Regions from separate parts of the Homo sapiens genome. Here regions 1, 2, 3, 4, 6 and 7 are each linked to region 5. Evidence: promoter capture Hi-C in 16 types of primary human blood cells and fetal thymus (Javierre and others, 2016). All regions are on one chromosome and are shown on one strand. Each heading gives the region's core, a stretch centred on a gene start or on the middle of the fragment in contact. The rest is flanking DNA. Distances are from core to core; before and after follow the strand shown. Region 1 has its middle 8.0 kb from the start of IL36G. Region 2 has its middle 11 kb from the start of IL36G. Region 3 overlaps TTL (tubulin tyrosine ligase). Region 4 overlaps LOC124907869 (a long non-coding RNA gene). Region 5 holds the start of CKAP2L (cytoskeleton associated protein 2 like). Region 6 has its middle 32 kb from the start of IL36G. Region 7 overlaps CHCHD5 (coiled-coil-helix-coiled-coil-helix domain containing 5).

What was found. Contacts are between HindIII fragments. The CHiCAGO score rates a contact against its expected background, and 5 or more counts as called.
Region 1: a fragment that was not itself captured here is called in contact with the fragment with the promoter of CKAP2L in region 5 in 1 of 17 cell types (M2 macrophages); the score reaches 5.6 in M2 macrophages.
Region 2: a contact is called between a fragment that was not itself captured here and the fragment with the promoter of CKAP2L in region 5, in 1 of 17 cell types (M1 macrophages). The highest score is 5.4, in M1 macrophages.
Region 3: a fragment that was not itself captured here is called in contact with the fragment with the promoter of CKAP2L in region 5 in 1 of 17 cell types (fetal thymus); the score reaches 5.1 in fetal thymus.
Region 4: a contact is called between a fragment that was not itself captured here and the fragment with the promoter of CKAP2L in region 5, in 2 of 17 cell types (monocytes and M1 macrophages). The highest score is 5.7, in monocytes.
Region 6: a contact is called between a fragment that was not itself captured here and the fragment with the promoter of CKAP2L in region 5, in 6 of 17 cell types (megakaryocytes, endothelial precursors, M0 macrophages and 3 more). The highest score is 12.0, in megakaryocytes.
Region 7: a contact is called between a fragment that was not itself captured here and the fragment with the promoter of CKAP2L in region 5, in 1 of 17 cell types (neutrophils). The highest score is 5.0, in neutrophils.

Annotation. Positions count from the first base shown.
Region 1 is chr2:112,968,522-112,971,438 of GRCh38, reverse strand. No RefSeq gene overlaps it. Among named protein-coding and RNA genes, the nearest start is that of IL36G, 8.0 kb to the left of the region's middle. The HindIII fragment of the contact is 1,152 bases long and covers 774-1,925 here.
Region 2 is chr2:112,987,564-112,990,396 of GRCh38, reverse strand. No RefSeq gene overlaps it. Among named protein-coding and RNA genes, the nearest start is that of IL36G, 11 kb to the right of the region's middle. The HindIII fragment of the contact is 888 bases long and covers 836-1,723 here.
Region 3 is chr2:112,533,346-112,536,045 of GRCh38, reverse strand. It overlaps TTL (tubulin tyrosine ligase), which reads right to left. Exons shown (of 7, transcript NM_153712.5): 7 at 1-2,700. Among named protein-coding and RNA genes, the nearest start is that of POLR1B, 7.8 kb to the left of the region's middle. The HindIII fragment of the contact is 264 bases long and covers 1,268-1,531 here.
Region 4 is chr2:112,607,213-112,609,912 of GRCh38, reverse strand. All of the region lies in intron 1 of LOC124907869 (a long non-coding RNA gene), which reads right to left. Among named protein-coding and RNA genes, the nearest start is that of CHCHD5, 24 kb to the right of the region's middle. The HindIII fragment of the contact is 4,928 bases long and covers 1-2,700 here.
Region 5 is chr2:112,763,232-112,766,169 of GRCh38, reverse strand. It overlaps CKAP2L (cytoskeleton associated protein 2 like), which reads left to right and starts at 1,561. Exons shown (of 9, transcript NM_152515.5): 1 at 1,561-1,608. The coding sequence starts at 1,572. RefSeq lists a silencer at 1,182-1,341 and an enhancer at 1,792-1,931. The HindIII fragment of the contact is 4,243 bases long and covers 1-2,274 here.
Region 6 is chr2:112,944,968-112,947,669 of GRCh38, reverse strand. No RefSeq gene overlaps it. Among named protein-coding and RNA genes, the nearest start is that of IL36G, 32 kb to the left of the region's middle. The HindIII fragment of the contact is 1,642 bases long and covers 526-2,167 here.
Region 7 is chr2:112,588,616-112,591,351 of GRCh38, reverse strand. It overlaps CHCHD5 (coiled-coil-helix-coiled-coil-helix domain containing 5), which reads right to left. Exons shown (of 4, transcript NM_032309.4): 4 at 2,312-2,486. The coding sequence ends at 2,463. Among named protein-coding and RNA genes, the nearest start is that of CHCHD5, 5.4 kb to the right of the region's middle. The HindIII fragment of the contact is 3,880 bases long and covers 1-2,736 here.

The sequences.
Region 1 (2,917 bases), core at 100-2,599, 210 kb before region 5:
TCAGTCCCAGAGTTCATCTGTCTCCTCTGCTTTATAATCCTCTGCTGTGATTGATGGACCATTGTGGCATTTTTTTGCCCCTGGAGATTTCCATCAATACAGAGGCAGTATCTGAAACCCCCAGATACTATTTCGCTCTCCCACTGCATAGCCCTGATAAATGGCCATAAGTATGTCTGGCAAAGTCTTGGAGAAAGATTCTTACTATATACCAGTCACCATGTATTAGTCTGCTCAGGCTGCCATAACAAAATATCACAGGCTGGGTGGCTGAAAGAACAGAACTTCATTTCTCACCATTCTGGAGGCTGGAAGTCCAAGATCAAGGTGTCAATAGTTTTGGTGTCTCCTAAGGGCTCTCTCCTTGGCTCACAGGTGGCCGCCTTCTCTCTGTTCTCACATGACCCTGTGTGCATCCCTGGTGTCTCTTCCTCACATTGCAAAGTCACATTGGATTAGGGACCCACTTTATAGCCTCATTTTACCTTAATTACCCCTTGAAACACCCTATTTCCAAGTAATCACAGTAGGGTTTAGGGCGTCAACGTATGAATTAAGAGGGGGGACAAAATTCAGACCATAACATGCCACTATGCAAAGTTCCTCCTCAAATGGACCTGGCCTTCATCTTAGGAATCCAGGGCTTCGATCTTCCTTAGACCTGGAAATTGGGTAAAAAGCTATACATTTCCACCACAGTAATTTGAGTTCTTTTCTGTACACCAGACCTAAAAATCTTCCTCCCATATGTGTTAAGCAGCACCTTAGAAGCTTTTCCATGTATTTCATTTCTACAGACCCTGAGATGAATTTGTCATTGCCACGGGGTCCTGAAGTTCAAATACTCTATTTGGTATCCTGCCCCTGTGGTTAACTGTGATCATTTCACTCACCTTGTTTATGATGAGAGGTGCCACCATCTGGCCTCCTCCACTCTGCAATCCTGTTAATTCCTATCAAAGCTGAAAACCTGCTGCAGCACCCACACCATCACCTCCAGCCTAGAGAGGGAAGCTACCAGTGAGCTCTCCTGGATGCCGGTGTGCCCCTCGCCAATACATTTCTTCTTAGTCCCTTGGTCATCCTGAGGTGTGTGATTAATGGACAGCTATGTGGATTGCACATAATAGATGTACTCCAGCATCTTCATCCCTGATTTTCCTTTACAGAAATCACTCAACCTTAGCAACATGTGAAAATCACCTAAGGACATTCTTTAAATCCCTCTGTCCACATGGCAACACAAACCACTTAAATAAGAATCTCCAGGGAGTCACTCAAGCATCAATGTTTTTTAAAGCTCCAATTTTAAGGATCATTACATTATGTCGAAGAAATTATAGTATTTCAGCCTTACTGACTGTAAACCACCACCATATCTAAGCATCCATTAGTCAACCTAGCAGACAATAAACTAACATTACCTCCAGGTACTCAAATCAATTCATTGCATCCCAAATCCCAGATGGGCCCACCCTTATTGACAAATTCAGCCCAATCTTGGTTGAACACATTTAGAATATATTTCCATGAACAATATCCGGTTGACGAGTTTCTTTAACTTTTTGGAGTTTAGGCCATTTCCTTTCACAGTAGCCTTGTAAATTCCCTGTCAGTGCTCCATGGGGGTCATGAGGAGACCTCTTATTAGCCTGTGAGGCAACTTGGCTCAGGTGCAGACACTCAAATGCTTCACATGCAGTGGGAAAGGAGAGTGATTGTCTACCTCAGTTGTCAATGGAGCCTCAAGGACATACGAAGGTTCAAAGTTCTCAACTCATATATGCCTGATCAAACGTCCCCATATGGTGTCTCAGAGTCAACTCCTTCCCCATCAGTGCCCTGACTTCGGCATAACAAACCTGGCAGGTTAAGTGATTAATCGGTCCTGTACAACTGTAGCCCTTAGCAGGAAGCACTAAGCTTCGTTTTCATTTATTTCTTCCCTGGAACTGCAAGAAATGAGGGATGCCTTCCGCCATGAAGTTTTGCTGATTGTCCACTTTGTTCTCAAGGAGATATTCACAGTTTTTAATTTGTCTTTCTCTCCTGCATGGTCTCCAAACCTGTCCAAAGAAGCCAGCTGGCTCCATCATCTGTAAAATCACCATTGTCACCAGAGCACTTGACTTCCTGTTGCCCTACAATCCACCTGCACTTTATTTCCTGCCACCATGATAATGTAGTGTTACTACATTTTACATTCAGCTGTAAGAAATGTCACATTCATTTACCTAAATCAAATTAAGTCTGCTCACTCAGTCCCCCACAGTGACCAACCTATAAAAGAGAAGGTAAATTTCAGTCATCACTGAGGTTCTCTCTACCACTGGAAAACTGAGGAAGGGTCTGGAGTCCACAGTGGTTAACATCATTGCCTCTGTTTTTTCTCCTACTCAATGTAACCATCCAAGGTTACTCACAAATTCACAAAAAGAGGTCTTCACCTCTGCTCTCAAGACCCAGAGGGCTGGGTTCTAGACTCAAAGGCCAATGTTCCCCAACTTTTTGCATTGTTTCAACATTGGGGAAAACTCGAGGGGATTCAAGAATGGTTATATAAGTTTTGTGGAAAAATGTATAATTTTTTAAAATTAAAATACAAAGTATTATGGAAAGCACTAAATATTGAATTTATATAAATATTCCAAATATTTTTCTAAATTTTTAGTGAGAAACTTGAGCTTGCTTCTGTGAGATATTTATTTTAAAACAGATTTGACACTTAAAATGTCTAATCAAGCCTTTTAAACCATGATCTATCTCTTCAAATTCTTCAGATGCCACCATCAATAAGAAACTTTGTTCACACAAGTAAGTGGTAGCAAATGGCAGGGTGTTTATCATTTTTTTTTTTTCTTTTTTTGAGACGGAGTCTCGCTCTGTCGCCCAGGCTGGAGTGCAGTGGCGCGATCTC
Region 2 (2,833 bases), core at 30-2,529, 220 kb before region 5:
TTTTAAAAAGATAAATAAAATAAGCAAACTGTAAGCTAGACTAAGAAAAAAAGAATATTCAAATAAATAAAATCAGAAATGAAAAGGGAGATGTTAAAGCTGATACCACTGAAATACAAAGAATCATAGAGACTATTATGAACAATTATATGCCAACAAATTGGAAAACCTTGAAGAAATAGATAAATTCCTGGACACATAAAACCTACCACTATTGAAATATGAAGAAATAAAAAGACTGAACAGATCAATAGGGAAGGAGATTTAATTAGCAGTTTAAAACTCTTCCATCAAAGAAAACCCCAGGGCCTGATGGCTTCATTCCTTAATTCTATCAAGCATTTAGTGAAGAACTAACACCAAGCCTTTTCACACTATTTCACAAAGTTGAAGAGAGTGGAATTCTTTCAAACTCATTCCATAAGGCCAGCATCATCCTGATGTCAAAATCAGACCAGAACACCACCAAAAAGGAAAACTACAGACCAACATCGCTAATGAACATAGATGCAAAATTCCATAATAAACTACTAGCAAACCAAACTCAAATAGCACATTAAAAGGATTATTCACCATAGCCAATCATCCCAGGTATGCAAGGATGGTTCAATACACACAAATCAATAAATATAATATACCACGTTAACAAAATGAAAGAAAAAATATATAATCATTTCAAAAGACGCAGAAAAAAACATTTGACAAAATTCAACATCTCTTCATGATAAAAACTCTCAATGGATTAGGTATAGAAGGAATGTATCTGAACATAAGAAAGGCCATATACAACAAACCCATGGCTAACATCATACTGAATGGGGAAAAGTTTGAAGCTTTTATTCTAAGATTTGGAAGAAAAAAAGAATGCCCACTTTCACCACTTCTATTCAACATAGTACTGGAAGTCCTAGCCAGAGCCAGACAAAAGAAAGAAATAAAGGGCGTCCAAATTGGAAAGGAGAAAGTTAATTGTCCATGTTTGCTTTTGACATGCTCTTATACACTAAAAATCTTAAACATCGAAAAAAAACTGTTAGATCTAATAAACTAATTCAATAAAGTTGCAGGTTACAAAATCAACGTTCAAAAAACAGTAGCATTTTTTTTAACTTTAAGTTCTGGGATACACATGCAGATTTGTTACACACATGTGCCATGGTGGTTTGCCACACCTATCAATCCATCATCTAGGTTTTAAGCCCCACATTATGTATTTGTCCTAATGCTCTCCCTCCCTTTACCCCCCATCCCCTGACAGGCCCCAGTGCCTGATGTTCCCCTCCCTGTGTCTATGTGTTCTCATTGTTCAACTCCCACTTAAGAGTGAGAACATGTGGTGTTTGCTTTTCTGTTCCTGTGTTAGTTTGCTGAGAATAATGGTTTCCAGCTTCACCCATGTCCCTGCAAAGGACAGGAACTCATTCTTTTTATGGCTGCATAGTATTCCATGGTGTATATGTGCCACATTTTCTTTATCCAGTCTAACACTGATGGACATTTAAGTTAGTCCCAAGTCTTTGCTGAAAAAACAGTAGCATTTTTATACACTAATAGCAAACATTACTCTAAGCAAATTATTAAGCAAATGATTCTTTTTAAATCAAGTGATAAAGTAATTCTACAACATGAGATTTAATGGTGAAGACCTACTGCCAAGGCACTGGGAACACTGATGAATTAGTCATGGCTCCCACCACTGTGAACATGATACTAACAACAAGCTTTGTGTTAAATAAACATATGCCTCTATTATATATTTATTATATTTTAACCATGAGTCTTAATGGTTTGATGAAATGACATCAAGAAAAAATGAAATATGAGAGATTTTAGCATCATCATAACTAATGCAGCTAAACAGAGTTAATAAAGGTGTGGGCATTATTACACACTTAATTTAAAAAACAATCTCTAAACATAGTGGGTAAGATTATGATATATGCTATGATACAACATCAAAGTCTGAGGAAGATTTACCTAATTAAAGTAGACATTGTTTTGTCCCCAAAAAAGAAGGGAAACATGATTTAAAACAAATAAAGCTTTTTGTAGTCTCTTTTCATTTTTAATTCATGAAATAGGAAATTAATTTGCTTTGTGACAGAATTTTAAATGATTTTTGTCAAGACTACAAAAATTGCTTTACACTAAAAAATACTACGTCTTCTATGGGGTTGAGTGCCTTTGTGACAATTTGTAAAATATTAAAACAGAGACACACACATGCACCTTAGAGTATTAAAAGTCATTGTAGTAAATGCTATAATTGTCATTATTATTATAAAAAATAATAAATAAATGATGTTAGAAAAATTGGATATCCACACGCAGAAAAATAAAATTGACTCATCTCTCACCATATACAAAAATTAAGATGGATTAAATACTTAAACGTAAGACTTGAAACTATGAAACTACTAGAAGAAAACATAGGAGAAACATTGTCTGAGCAAGGATTTTTTGGATAAGACCTCAAAATCAAAGGCAAAAAACAAAATCAGAAATAAACAAATGTGTGACTATATCAAACAAGAGAGCTTCTGTATAGAAAAGGAAACAATCAACAGAGTGAAGAGACAACTTACAGAATGGGAGAAAATATTTTCAAACTATACATCTGACAAGGGGTAAATATCAAAAATACATAGCGAACTTAAACAACTCAGTTGCAAATAATAATAATAATAAATAAATAACCTGTTTGAAAAACAGGCAAAATACCTGAATAGACATTTCACAAAAAGAAAGACCAATAGATATATGAAAAAATGCTCAATATTCCTAATCAGAGAAATGCAAGTCAAAATCACAATGGCGTATCACTTTCCCCTAG
Region 3 (2,700 bases), core at 150-2,649, 230 kb after region 5:
CGTTATGTGAAGTGAAATTAGCCAGGTAAGTTTTGAAGTAAGCCAGGTCCTATCTCTAAAAAAATTGTTTTAAATTAGCCAAGTATGGTGGCAGGCACCTATAGTTCCAGCTACTTGGGTGGCTAAGGTGGGAAGATTACTTGAAACCAGAAGTTTGAGGCTGCAGTGAGCTATCATTACACCACTAGACTCCAACCTAGGCAACAGAGCAAGACTCTGTCTCTAAATAATAAAAATAAAAATAAAATGAAGTGTGTTTTTTGTAGATAGCATATAGTTGGATCATGATTTTTAAAAAAAATCAATTTGCCAATCTCTACCTTCTGATTGGAGTATTTAATTCATTTGCATTTAATGAAATTACTGATAAGGCAGGATTTATCTACCATTTTACTGTTGGTTTCTTTAGGCCTCTTGCCTTTTTTTTCTCCTCTATTTTTCATTACTTCCTTCTCTTTTCTTATATATTTTCTAGTGTAACATTTCTGTTTCCTTGTCATTTTTTACTATATATTTAAAATTATTTACTTAGTGGCTGGTGTGTCTTGAGGTGGACTCTTTGAGTCTTTCCTGCTTAGAATTTGTTGAGCTTCTTGGATTCACTTTAATGTTTTTCCTCAAAGTGGGAAAGGTTTTGGCCACTATTTCTTCCAGTATATGTTTTATCCCCTTCCCTCTCTCTCACTTATCTATTCTAGGACTCCTATTATGTGTATGTTGGTATGTTTGATGGTGTCTGACGGGTGTCTGAAGCACTGATCATTTTTCTTTGCTGATTTTTTTTTTCTGTTCCACAGACTGGATAATCTCAAATGACTTCTAATTTGCTGATTACTTCTTTTACCAGTTCACACATTTTTTAAACTTCTCAAGTAAATCTTTCATTTGCATTTTTGTACTTTGCAACTCTAAAATTTCTACTTGGTTCTATTTTATAAACTAACTTTCTTTCCTTTTTTCTTTTCTTTCTTCTTTCTCTTTTTTCTTTCTCAATCTTTCTCTTTTCTTCCCTCCCTCCTTTCCCTCCCTCCCTCCCTTTCTCCTTCTTTCTGCCTGCCTTTCTTTCCTTTCTCTTTCTTCCTCTCTCTTTCTCCCCTTCCTACCTTTCCTCCCTCCCTCTTTCCCTCCTTCTGCCTCTGTCCTCTCTGTTTGTGCAGACACTTAAGGTCAGACGAAAGAGCTGGGGAATTCTCAGGTCTCTTCTGGGCATGTGCACAGTCCTACACATGTGTGTGGCCTTCTGCATTCTTAGGAATAGGTTGAAGCTTTTCAAAACGTCCTATAGAAATCTCATTCCCAGTTTTTCCTTCTAAGTCTTTTGGTCAGTTTGTTTGTTCCAACTGTTACAGCCACCTTAGGAAGCTGAGATGTTCAACAATTGCTGTTGATTTTTTTTGACAAATGCACCCAGGGAAAAGGTTGTTCACACTGGGTAACCTCTTAGTCACATCAAATAAAGACAAGACCTAGGAGTAGGGACTTACATGGAACTACCAAAAAGGCCAAATGGCAATTCTCTGGTAATGAAGCTTTGGAGGAGTTCCAATCCCCTTCTGAGCCCTACGGTGGCTGCTCTGCTGCTGGATGTCAGCATGATTGTGTGGCCGAGGCTGTTGTGGAGCTGGGGAAAGGGGGAGTGGGAATAGGGTACATTAAAATGTCAGAAAGCTTGCTTTTCTTACCCAGATGCAACCCTTTCCTTTTTTTTTTTTTTTTTTTTTTGAGACAGAGTCTCGCACTGTCACCCAGGCTGGATGGAGTGCAGTGGCGTGATCTCGGCTCACTGCAAGCTCTGCCTCCTAGGTTCACGCCATTCTCCTGCCTCAGCCTCCCAAGTAGCTGGGACTACAGGCACCTGCCACCGCGCCCGGCTAATTTTTTGTATTTTTAGTAGAGATGGGGTTTCACTGTGTTAGCCAGGATGGTCTCCATCTCCTGACCTCGTGATCGCCCGCCTTGGCCTCCCGAAGTGCTGGGATTACAGGCCTTTTCTTGAATAAATGGATTGCTGCAAGCCTCTGGTTAATGTCTAGACAGTTTTGCTAGTGTTCTCATTGCTTTTATGGAAGAGAGGGTTTTCAGAGGTTGTTACTCTATTATGCCCACTGATGTCCTCTCATAATTTTTGAAAGGAATTATGCTTGCAACAATCTTCAAGTTCTGCTACTATGTATTGCATTGGAGAGGGGTTCATTTTCCTTTGCCTTCAGGGACTGCTATGGTTTGAATGTGTTCCCCAAAGTAAATGTGTTGGAAACTTAATCTCTACTGCAATAGTGTTGAGAGGTGGGACCTGTAAGAGGTTAGGTCACGAGAGCTCTACCCTCATGAATAAATTAATGATGTTATGCCAGGAGTGGGTTAGTTATCACAGGAATGGGTTGCTAGTTAAAGGGTGAGTTAGACTCCATTCCTCTCTTGCCATGTGATGCCTTCTGCCATGCTGAGGCAGCAAGAAGGCCCTCACCAGATATAGCCCCTTGATATTGGACTTCTCATCCTCCAGAACCGTGAGCCACATACACTTCTCTGTAACATTCTGTTATGGCAATACAAAATAGACTAAGATATGGAGGGATGCTTTGGGGAAAACACTTCTAAAATATGGGTTATGGGAGAACTTCAGGTTAAGAAGGAGGTGTAGCTACTGACAGGAAGTGGGACCAGTCTTTAAGAGAAGTCTTCCAAAGGCTTTGGGCC
Region 4 (2,700 bases), core at 56-2,555, 160 kb after region 5:
AAAACTGAAACTGGACCTCTTCCTTACACCTTTTACAAAAATCAATTCAAGATGGATCAAAGACTTAAATGTAAGACCTAGGACCATAAAAATCCTAGAAGAAAACCTGAGCAATACCATTCAGGACATAGGCATGGGCAAAGACTTCATGCCTAAAACACCAAAAGCAATGGCAACAAAAGGCAAAATTGACAAATGTGATCTAATTAAACCAAAGAGCTTCTGCACAGCAAAAGAAACTACCATCAGAGTGAACAGGCAACCTACAGAATGGGAGAAAAATTTTGCAATCTATCTATCTGACAAAGGGCTAATATCCAGAATCTACAAAAAACTTAAACAAATTTACAAGAAAAAAGCAAACAACCCCATCAAAAAATGGGCAAAGGGTATGAACAGACACTTCTAAAAAGAAGACATTTATGCAGCCAACAGACATGAAAAAATGCTCATCGTCACTGGTCATTAGAGAAATGCAAATCAAAACCACAATGAGATACCATCTCATGCCAGTTAGAATGGCGATCATTAAAAAGTCAGGAAACAGGCCGGGCACGGTGGCTCAAGCCTGTAATCCCAGCACTTTGGGAGGCCGAGGTGGGTGGATCACGAGGTCAGGAGATCCAGACCATCCTGGCTAACACAGTGAAACCCTGTCTCTACTAAAAATACAAAAAAATTAGCCAGGCGTGGTGGCAGGTGCCTGTAGTCCCAGCTACTCGGGAGGCTGAGGCAGGAGAATGGCGTGAACCCAGGAGGCAGAGCTTGCAAAGAGTTGAGATCGTGCCACTGCACTCCAGCCTGGGAAAGATGGCGAGACTCTGTCTCAATAAAAAAATAAATAAATAAATAAAAAGTCAGGAAACAACAGATGCTGGAGAGGTTGTGGAAAAATAATGCTTTTACACTGTTGGTGGGAGTGTAAATTAGTTCAACCATTGTGGAAGACAGTGTGGCGATTCCTCAAAGATCTAGAACTGGAAATATCATTTGACCCAGCAATCCCATTACTGGGCTTATACCCAAAGGATTATAAATCATTCTATGATAAAGACACATGCACACGTATGTTTATTGTGGCACTATTCACAATAGCAAAGACTTGGAACCAACCCAAATGTCCATCAATGATAGACTGGATTAAGAAAATGTGGCACATATACACCATGGAATACTATGCAGCCATAAAAAAGGATGAGTTCATGTCCTTTGCAGGGACATGGATCAAGCTGGAAACCATCATTCTCAGCAAACTATCACAAGGTCAGAAAACCAAACACCACATGTTCTCACTCATAAGTGGAAGTTGAACAATGAGAATATATGGACACAGGGAGGGGAACATCACACACCGGGGCCTGTCAGGGGGTCGGGGGCTAGAGGAGGGATAACATTAGGAGAAATACCTAATGTAGGTGACGGGTTGATGGGTGCAGCAAACCACCAGGGCACGTGTATACCTATGTAACAAAACTGCACGATGTACACATGTTTGCCAGAACTTAAAGTATAATTAAAAAAAAAAAAAAGAAAAGAAAAGAAAACTCAGGGATCAGGGTTTTTAAGAATAATTTGGTGGGTAGGGGTCCAGTGAGCCAGGAGCACCGATTGGTTGGCTTGAGGATGAACTCATAGGCAGTCGAAGCTATCCTCTTATGCTGAGTCAGTTCCTGGGTGAGTGCCACAGAACTGGTTGGCAGGTCCAGGTGAGGCCAACCACTTGTCAGAAATGGAAAAACCTGAAAAGACATCTCAAAAGGCCAATCTCAGGTTCACAATGGTGATGTTATCTTCAAGAGTAATCAGGGAAGTTGCAAATCTCATGACCTTCCACGTAACAGCTGGTAATATTTAGAGTTCCAGCCCCTCTCATCCTAACTTGGTGGCTGGTGGCCTTTCATTCGTTTTACAAGAACAGATTTGCTTTTGGGAAGGGCTGTTATTTAAACTATAAACTAAATTCCTTCCCAAGGCTAGTTCGGCCTATGCCCAGGAATGGATAAGGACAGTTTAGAGGTTAGAAGCAAGATGGAGTCAGTTAGGTCTGATCTATTTCACTGTCATAATTCCCCATAATTTTGGCAAAGGCGGTTTCAAGATGGGCAGTCTTCTTCAGAACTCTCCCGAGCCAGTTTATCACCTGCTTCCCTGGTTCTGGTAAGCATGAGACTCCATGCCTTGCCCTCCTCTGAGTATAGCTGCAGACTAGAAAACACTTGGCTGGGCCAGGCACGGTGGCTCATGCCTGTAATCCCAGCACTTTGGGAGGCTAAGGTAGGCAGATCACTAGGGGTCAGGAGTTTGAGACTAGCCTGGCCAACATGGGGAAAACTCCGTCTTTACTAAAAATACAAAAAAAAAAAAAAAAAAAAAAAAAGAAGCTGGGCATGGTGGCGCATGCCTGTAATCACAGCTACTCAGGAGGCCGAGGCAGTGAGATGAGATCACACCACCGCACTCCAGCCTGGGCAACAGAGCAAGACTCTGTCAAAAGAAAGAGGAAGGGAAGGGAAGGCAAGAGAAGGCAAAGGGAGGGGAGGGGAGGCAAGGGGAGGAGAGGTTAGGTGAGGGGAGGCGAGGCGAGGGGAGGGGAGGGAGAAGAAGGGAAGGGGAGGCCAGGGAAGGGGAGGCAAGGGGAGGGGAGGGGAGGGAGAAGGAGGAAAGGGAAGGGAAGGGAAGGGAAAGGAAGGGAAGGGAAGG
Region 5 (2,938 bases), core at 312-2,811:
CCAAACTCCCTATTTACGGCTAAAGAGAAGGGCTGCTGCAGTGGCTTCATGCCCTGCTGAGTACCCAACTGGTAAGCTGAACCTGGCCAACAGGTGCCCAGATATGACTGCCCCTCCACACACGACTTCTCCAGCATCCATGGAAGAGGAACCTTCATACACAAGGAGCCAAAAGCATTTTCCAGACCTCTTTAAGAAACTGGAGAATAGATGAAACAGGACAAACTTCAAAAGAAAAAAAATTTAGGATTAAAACAAGGGGAATGAAGTGTGTCTAGGGATTCAGGACAACGAGGCCTGCGATCTCCTAGTAACTAGGAGAAACTAGGCCTGCGTTTCTCCGTTAGCCTTATGGCCTTATAGTCAGCTGATCAGGTGAAATCGAAAATATACCTTGAACAAGAGATCACCGTGAGAGGAGTAAGGCAGTTTCTCAAAAAATTAAAAATAGAATTGCCGTTTGATCCAACAATACCACTTCGTGGTATATACCCAAAAGAATGAAAAGGAGAGTCTCAAAGAGTTATTTGTGCATTCATGTTCATATTATTATTCACAATAGCCAAAAAGTGGAAGCAACTCAAGTGTCCGGAGAGGGATGGACCAAGAAGCAAAATGTGGCATCTCCACACAACGAAATGCTATTCCCCCTTAAAAGGAAAGGAAATTCTGACACATGCTACACATGGATGAACCTTGAATACTTTATGCTAAGTGAAACAAGCCAGTCACAGAACAAATACTGCATGATTCTACTTATATGGCACCTACAGTTGTCAAATCCATAGAGACAGAAACTAGAATGGTGATTGCCTGGGGCTGGGGGAGGGAGGAGTGCGGAGTTAGTGACGGGTACAGGGTTTCATTTGGGAAGATGAAAAAGTTCTGGAAAGGACAGTAGTGGTGGCTGTGCCACAATGTGAGGGTACTTAATACCACTAAACTGCACATTTTTGAAAAATTTAACACTTTAAAATGGTTAAAATGGTATATGTGATGTTATGCATATTTTACCACAATTAAACGAGCCACCCTGCAGTACTAAGAACTAGGAGCCTTTAGATGCATAAGACCCATATGTCCTCTTTATAATATTATTTTTTCACAGCTCCTGTGAGTCTGAGACTTTGAAAGGACAGAATCAGGTAGCGGCCCCAGCATCCTGGGAGGACCGCCCTGTCTCTCCGCCCAGGGACTCCCGGCGCGCCAACCCCAGCTGGATTCAGCGTAACCGCCCCCCAACCACCAGCCCGGCTGAGGCCCCCACGGAGGGTCCCACGCCCACTCGGAGGCGCACTCACAGGCGCACTCAGAGGCGGGCGGCGCCGCGCCCCGAGGAAGCCGCCCTCAATGCCGAGGTGCGCTGCACGTTCTTCCAATCAAAGGGCCCCAAGGTCGGGTTCTCAAGGCCAGAGCCAACCGCAAAGAGCCTATTGCCTGTTGTCCCGCCCTCCCGTGCTGACGACTAGCGAGTTTCAAACCCGCAGGAGCCAATGAGGACGCGTGGACGCGCGGCACGCCGGTCCTGGCTACAGGCGCGGCGTTTGAAGAAAAACTGTCACTGAAGAGTCATGGTGGGGCCCGGGCCTACCGCTGCTGCCGCTGTCGGTGAGTACGACCGCTGTTCCCGTTATTCTCAGGCGTTGGAACACGGCCGGGGAAGTAGGAGGCCACCGAGTGAGTTCGTCCCGCGGGAGGTGCCCGTCCGCTCGCCTGCCTAAGTTTCCCCTGGGCGTTTTCCATCCCGGGAGCGCAGACGGGACCCCCAGGTAGACGTCTGGGTCCTGGGCGGGGGAGGCTGTGCGCAGGCCCAGATACCTCACGGGCGTATTTCCAGAAAGCCCTGCAGCAGCCTTGCAAAGAGATGTCATTGTCACCACGTTCCGGATAAAGAAACTGAGGCCCCTTGCTCGGGTTTTCACCAGCAGTGGGAAGCTGCGCGCTGTTTTGATCCACATTTGGCTCCAGGCAGAGCCGGGCGTGGTCCTCTGTGCCAGGAGGCGGGGTCTGGCCGAAGCCCGGGTCTCCTGCCTCTGGCGGGGCTCTCACTCCACACCTCTCAGCCTGCGGTGGTTAGAAGTTGATTGGTTAAATCTGCACCCAGGGCTAAGGCTTCTGCGTTCCCTAATCTCTTAGATGTGCTTGGAGCCCTTTCCTACCTTTCAAAATACTCCTGCTCAGATGCCACTTTCTCCAAGATACGCACCGTTGTTTTGTTTCATCCATTATTCCTGTTGATGCCTACGAGGTCCTAGGCACTTTACATAACAAGCTTTAAAGATGGCATTTCTGTCCGCCTTATAGGCTTAGCAGCAGCAAAGTTTGCTAATTTGCTAGAAGTCACGGAGGTGGGACTCCAACCCCCTATGTCAGCCCCTACGCTCTACATTGCCCGCCAAGCTGTCTCTAAGGATAGATACATGAGCATCAGAGAGCAAAACAGGGCAACTCCGTTCAGATGAGGTTAAGAGTCGTTTGGCACCCCTGTCGTCTTTTTGTCTTCCTTCACATCATTATTTACTTTTAACCTTTTCTAGCCACCTACTCCCCTCATTTATGCCCTACCTCTGAACTCCCATACTTCTTTTCGTCTCTTATGGCCCTTAGATTTTACCTTATACTGTAATTGTTGCTGTGTTGATTTTATCTCCACTACTAGTTTGAAAGTTCTTGAAGGCAGAAATTATTGACTTGTCATCCCCTCACAAATGGCTTGCGTAGAAAGTCACCATAGTATAGGTGTCTGCCGTGAGCAGACCGGGCGTATTTTATCCTTAGTACCAACAAAGGAAGCCATATAAGGGTTTGTGGGTAAAAATCATCATCCCTGTAAAAAAACAAAAGACGTAAGACCAGGCCTGGCTCACCAGCTCAGGTGGGCCAGTAACAGAAATTCTTCAAAACAGACTGTTGTAGCTGAGAACAGTGGCTGTGAGCT
Region 6 (2,702 bases), core at 97-2,596, 180 kb before region 5:
GAGAGGGAGATCTGTTATAAATGCTGCCAGGAGGTCGAGTCATGTGAGAATGTCCATGTGAAAACATCCACTGTGTGTATCTAAAGAGAGTGGCTGTAAAACAGGTCAGGGTCAAAGGTCTTATTGTCTCAGATGTTATCTGCATGCATTGTCTCACGACCAAGAAAACTAAGGAGCATGGACACAAAGGGTTAGGTTGAAGCAAAAATTTAATAAGTGAAAGAAGAAGGCTCTCTGCAGTGGAGAGGGGAGTCTGAGTGGGTTGCCACTTTGACAGCTGAATCCAAAAGCTTTTATAAGAAACTCTTCTCATATCTGCAGCTGTTTGAGTAACTTCTCTTACCTATAAAACTGTCTGTATAACTCTCCCTTATCTATGCAGCTGTGGGATGTCTCCAGGTAAGCATAAAGTGTAGCTTCTCTTGTTTGTATAACTGTGGGTTTGTTTTAGGCAAGCCCCCATCCCCTCCCTGTGTAAGCTCCCATGGAGCCCACCATGTGCATATCTGAGAAGTGGAGGAAGCTTTCTCTGGGAGCTCACTGATCGTACAAAGAACAAGAGGCTTCTGTGCCGCTTATCTATTCAGGTGCAGCCTGAGTTTTCCCCAGGCTGCTCTATTTTTGCCTGTAGCTATGATTTTTCAGGCAGGCTGCTTCTCTGAAGACTAGCCTTAACTGTCTACCTATCAGATTTTTCCTTTTCTTCTCCCTCAGCTGGTTCCCCTCACCAAGGCTGAGCAAGTGAAAAGGAGGGCACAGGGCAGGCCAGTAGTGAGCAGCAACAAGGAACTAAGACAGCAGAAACCACTCTTCACACCTGGGTTGAAAGGGGTGGGGAGCCAGGACTACAGCTCAGGTAAGAACATAGGTAAAGAGATACTGTTGTTGTGTTGTTTTTAACTATGAGAAGCATTGAGCTTTAAATTTCTACAGGAAGGATCCAGTTCAGACAGGAGCACCCAATATTCAGAAGAGAAGAACATGGTGTAAAGGTCCTGGGAAGGCTGAGAGGATTGGGACTCAGAATCCAGAGCAGAAGCCGTCTGTGAACAGAAGAAGGACCTCCCCCAGTGTAGCAAGAGGGAGGGAGGAGGGACAGATGCCAAGATGGTTCAGGAAGAAGGTTTGGTGGTAAATGTGAGGCTGTGCTCACCTGCTGGCTTCAATTTTCTCTTTAAAATGTCAGATGGAATCATTTGATGAAGGCCATGCCATGCAATGAAATGGCAGTCTGAGGCATGGAGCAGCTCCAGCTTAGCCCGTGTTTAGGGTAATTATGGCTCCAACCCAGGAGATGAATATGACTAGGGAAAGTGAAGTCCAAAAACAAATGGTCTCAAGTTGACTGTGAGTCTTCTGGGAGGCTGAGACGACAGGTGGGGTTGACAAGGGAAGGGGAACCCACCTGCTGAAAAACATCAGGCTGTTGGCTGGGGGAGGGGTGAGGCCTGTGTTGTAGAGATGGATGGATGCCTAAAGTTGGGTAAAGGTTTCAACTCTAACCTCTGCTGGGTGTGGAAATAAACAAAGACCACCCAAATGAGAACAAACAAAGACTATTTATCCAGAGCTTGCTCTGACAAGGGAGTCGGCAACCATCACTTGCTTGGCAGAGACTCAGAAGTAAGCAGGGGAGAAAGCCTCATAGCAGAAAGAAGGGAAGTCTTCATGTATGCCCTGAGTGGCAGCTGTAGATGTGGGTGAGTTGCAGGTGGCTAACTAGAAATGGGGACTCCTGTGTGATTGATTAGGAGCATGTTTGGCTTTCTCTGGTTGGTCCTACATTGGAAGAGGGAACAAAAAATTTAGGGCAGTTGTCAGTTATTAATCAAGTGTTGGCCATTTTTGACTGACTGTTACAGGAGTGACTGGCTCCCTGGATTGTTTGCTAGAAATAGTGGTCTTCACTTCCTGCAAGTCTGACTTTCTGGTAATAGGCTTCCTGGGTTGGCTATTGTGGATAATAAGTGGGTTTCCTGAGCTGATTTCTGCAGATTGTGGATCAGAGTTATTTTATATAAACAGTCTGACCATTTTCCACTGGCATATTCCATCTTCCAAGAGCTGGCCAAGCTGCTGTCTTATCTGTCTCCCCCAGCCCCTCCACTCTGGCTGTGAAAATACAAGCCACTAGGTGAGGAATGGGGACAATTGAAGACTGAAAGCTTTTCTTTGCTGGGTTCGCAGAGCTGAGGAAAGAAATGACAACATCCAAGTGTCTGCCCTGGGCCAGTTTTAGGACTGTAGTGGTAATGCAAGGACTGTGTGAGTTTATATTTTCATTTGTCTCTCTAACTAAGGTGGAAAAAAAAAAACAGAAAATTGTCTGTCTGCAGTCTCTGCAAAAGTCTAACACTGTGCTTCCCAACATTGCAGCCATTAGCCACAGGTGAGTATCAAGCACTTTAAATGAGACTGGTCCAAACTGAGATGTGCTCTGAGAATAAAACACACAGCAGATTTCAAAGACCTAGTACATGCCCTGATTTCAAGCTATATTACAAAGCTGTGGTAATCAAAACAGTATGGCATTGGGAAAAAAATAGACACATTGGTCAATGTGACAGAATAGAGAGCCCAGAAATAAACCCGTGCATGTATAGTCAACTAATCTTTGACAAGAGTACCAAGAATACACAATGGGGAAAGTCTCTTCAATAAGTGGTGTTGGGAAAACTAGATATCCACATGCAAAAGAAAGA
Region 7 (2,736 bases), core at 177-2,676, 170 kb after region 5:
TTGTGGCAGGTTACAGGAACTGATCACAATTCTCTCTCCACTACCTGGGTTTCCTCCTAGCTCAGACAAATGGTATAAAATCTTGCAACCCTGAACTTACAGGATTTCTACCCGGCTCCTAAACCAATGAACAACTTCCTTTGTCTTGGAGATTAATCCCTAGGAGAGACTCCCATAGGCCAGGCTCATTCTTCCAAGCCGAGCATAATCCTTGGGTATCAAATGGCCAGTTACTCCAATTTCCAGAGGTTTGGGATCACCTCCAGGGAGGAGGGCCTCGTCTGAATGGTGAATGTGGGTGCAGGCCATGGGCATGCTCAGCTCAGCACTCTGGGGTCTCCTCCTCTATTGCATACACGCCTGTCTGCTTTCTATTCTTTAGGACCAGTCCCTACTGGGGAGCCTGTATCAAACAGCAGGAGCCTGTATTCCTGAGAAGCATGAAGAAGCCACAGCAGCCACTGTTGGTACCTGCCCAGATCCACTCAGCATCTCTTCCGCAGGTTTAAGGCTGCTCACTTGATCCCATTATACTCTGCTTACGGCCCTCTTCTGATGGCAGAAGTGAACTTGGCCTATAAAGGGCAGGCCAGAAGTACCAGTCAATGCCCATGAAAATACCCCTTAATGACAGATGGGAAGTTGGTAGATAACACAATTCCCTTGCTCCTTGATAGGGTAACTGGGTTATGTTCTATAAAGTCCCCCACAGGTCCCCAGTGGGACTGAGTCCCAGTTGCCCAGAGTGGTAACTCGCTTGATAATGCACCTTTTATTGGCTGCCTTCCTCTCTATTGTCTCCCTTCTCCATTCCTCTATCAGTGTTTCTGGAATCAAATTCAAATTACCATCTGCACTCAAATTCTGAGTTGGCTTCTGGAAAACTGGAAACTAAGAACAGAAATCCAGTGCATAGACCAGAAGCGGTGGCTCACACCTATAATCCCAGCACTTTGGGAGGCTGAGGTGGGCAGATCACCTGAGGTCAGGAGTTACAGACCAGCCTGACCAACATGGTGAAACCCCGTCTCTACTAGAAATACAAAAATTAGCCGGGCATGGCGGCCGGTGCCTGTAATCCCAGCACTTCGGGAGGCTGAGGCGGGCAGATCACCTGAGGTCAGGAGTTTGAGACCAGCCTGACCAACATGGTGAAACCCCATCTCTACTAGAAATACAAAAATTAGCCAGGCATGGTGGCGGATATCTGTAATCCCAGCTACTCAGGAGGCTGAGGCAGGAGAATTGCTTGAACTCAGGAGGCAGAGGTTGCAGTGAGCCGAGATCACGCCATTGCACTCCAGCCTGGGCAACAAGAGTGAAACTCCGTCTTGAAAAAAAAAAAAAAAAAAGAAGAAAGAAAGAAAAGAAATCCAGTACATGGCCTTCTAAGCCATACATCCTTCCATGTGGTTGTTTTCAATAATAAAGCCAGTATTTTCATCTCCATTGCCTAATGCCTCTGTTGCCCAGTTGATTCTGAATTCAGCAGGGAAAGACGCATATTATTTATCACCCCCCAAGCCTCCAGAAAACTGAAAACAGATTTGGAGAATGCAGCCAGGCACTGTGTCAAGTGCTTACGGTAGTGCTAGCTACTGTGGAGGCTGAGGCAGAGGATCACTGGAGCCCAGGAGTTCGAGGCTGCAGTAAGCTATTATCGCACCACTGTACTCCAGCCTGGGCAACAGAGCAAGACGTTGTCTTTAAAATATATATATAGGCTGCGCGTGGTGGCTCACGCCTGTAATCCCAGCAATTTGGGAGGCCGAGGTGGGCAGATCACGAGGTCAGGAGATCGAGACCATCCTGGCTAACACGGTGAAACCCTGTCTCTACTAAAAAAAAAAAAAAAAAAAATTAGCCAGGCGAGGTGGCGGGCGCCTGTAGTCCCAGCTACTAGGGAGGCTGAGGCAGGAGAATGGCACGAACCCCGGGGGGCGGAGCCTACAGTGAGCCGAGATCGTGCCACTGCACTCCAACCTGGGCGACAGCGAGACTCTGTCTCAAAAAAAAATAAAAATAAAAATAAAATAAAAAATATATATATTAAAAAAAAATAACAATTTGGGGAATGCTAGAGTGGAAGGGATTGAGGGTCTTTACCCCAGGCACATGCAGCAGAAGTCAGGAAATGGCTGTGTGGCAGAGTTCACAAGGGAGGCAGGGTAGTCTCAACCCTGGGGCACAGCTGCAGAGTCCTGTTCTTCCCAGGCACTTCCTTGGCACACCCGGTGAAGCTGGGGAACAGATGACTCTGCCCAGCCAGCTCTCCTAGGACCCTCTCAGGTACGGATGGCAGGAATCAAAGCCCAGTATACAGAGTCTTTATTTATTGGAAGTCCTGATATCCAGGAAAGCCGGGCCCATGTCCAGGGCTCAGGACTCCATCTGGCCACTCTGCAGGGGAGGGGCGTGGGGGCAGTCATTCATGTCCAGTTTTCCTGCCGTCAGAGGAGTCCTCAGGAGGCAGGAAGTGGCTGTGCCTGTGGAGAAAGTACATCAACATCTAGTAGCACCTCCTCTGTGCCCAGCCTGGGGAGCCTATGTAGACACCACAGAGGGAGACCCTGCAGAGCCCACAGTCTGGAGGGAGAAGGGTGTTGGGCAATGACCTTGGCCCTGAGCCATGTGAAAAAGTCAGCTGTGGTGAAGTGTCATGGGAGGCAGGGAACGCGCCATTCTGCTATATTTACTGAGCACCTGCCGTGTACCCAGCAGGCAAAACTCTCTGAC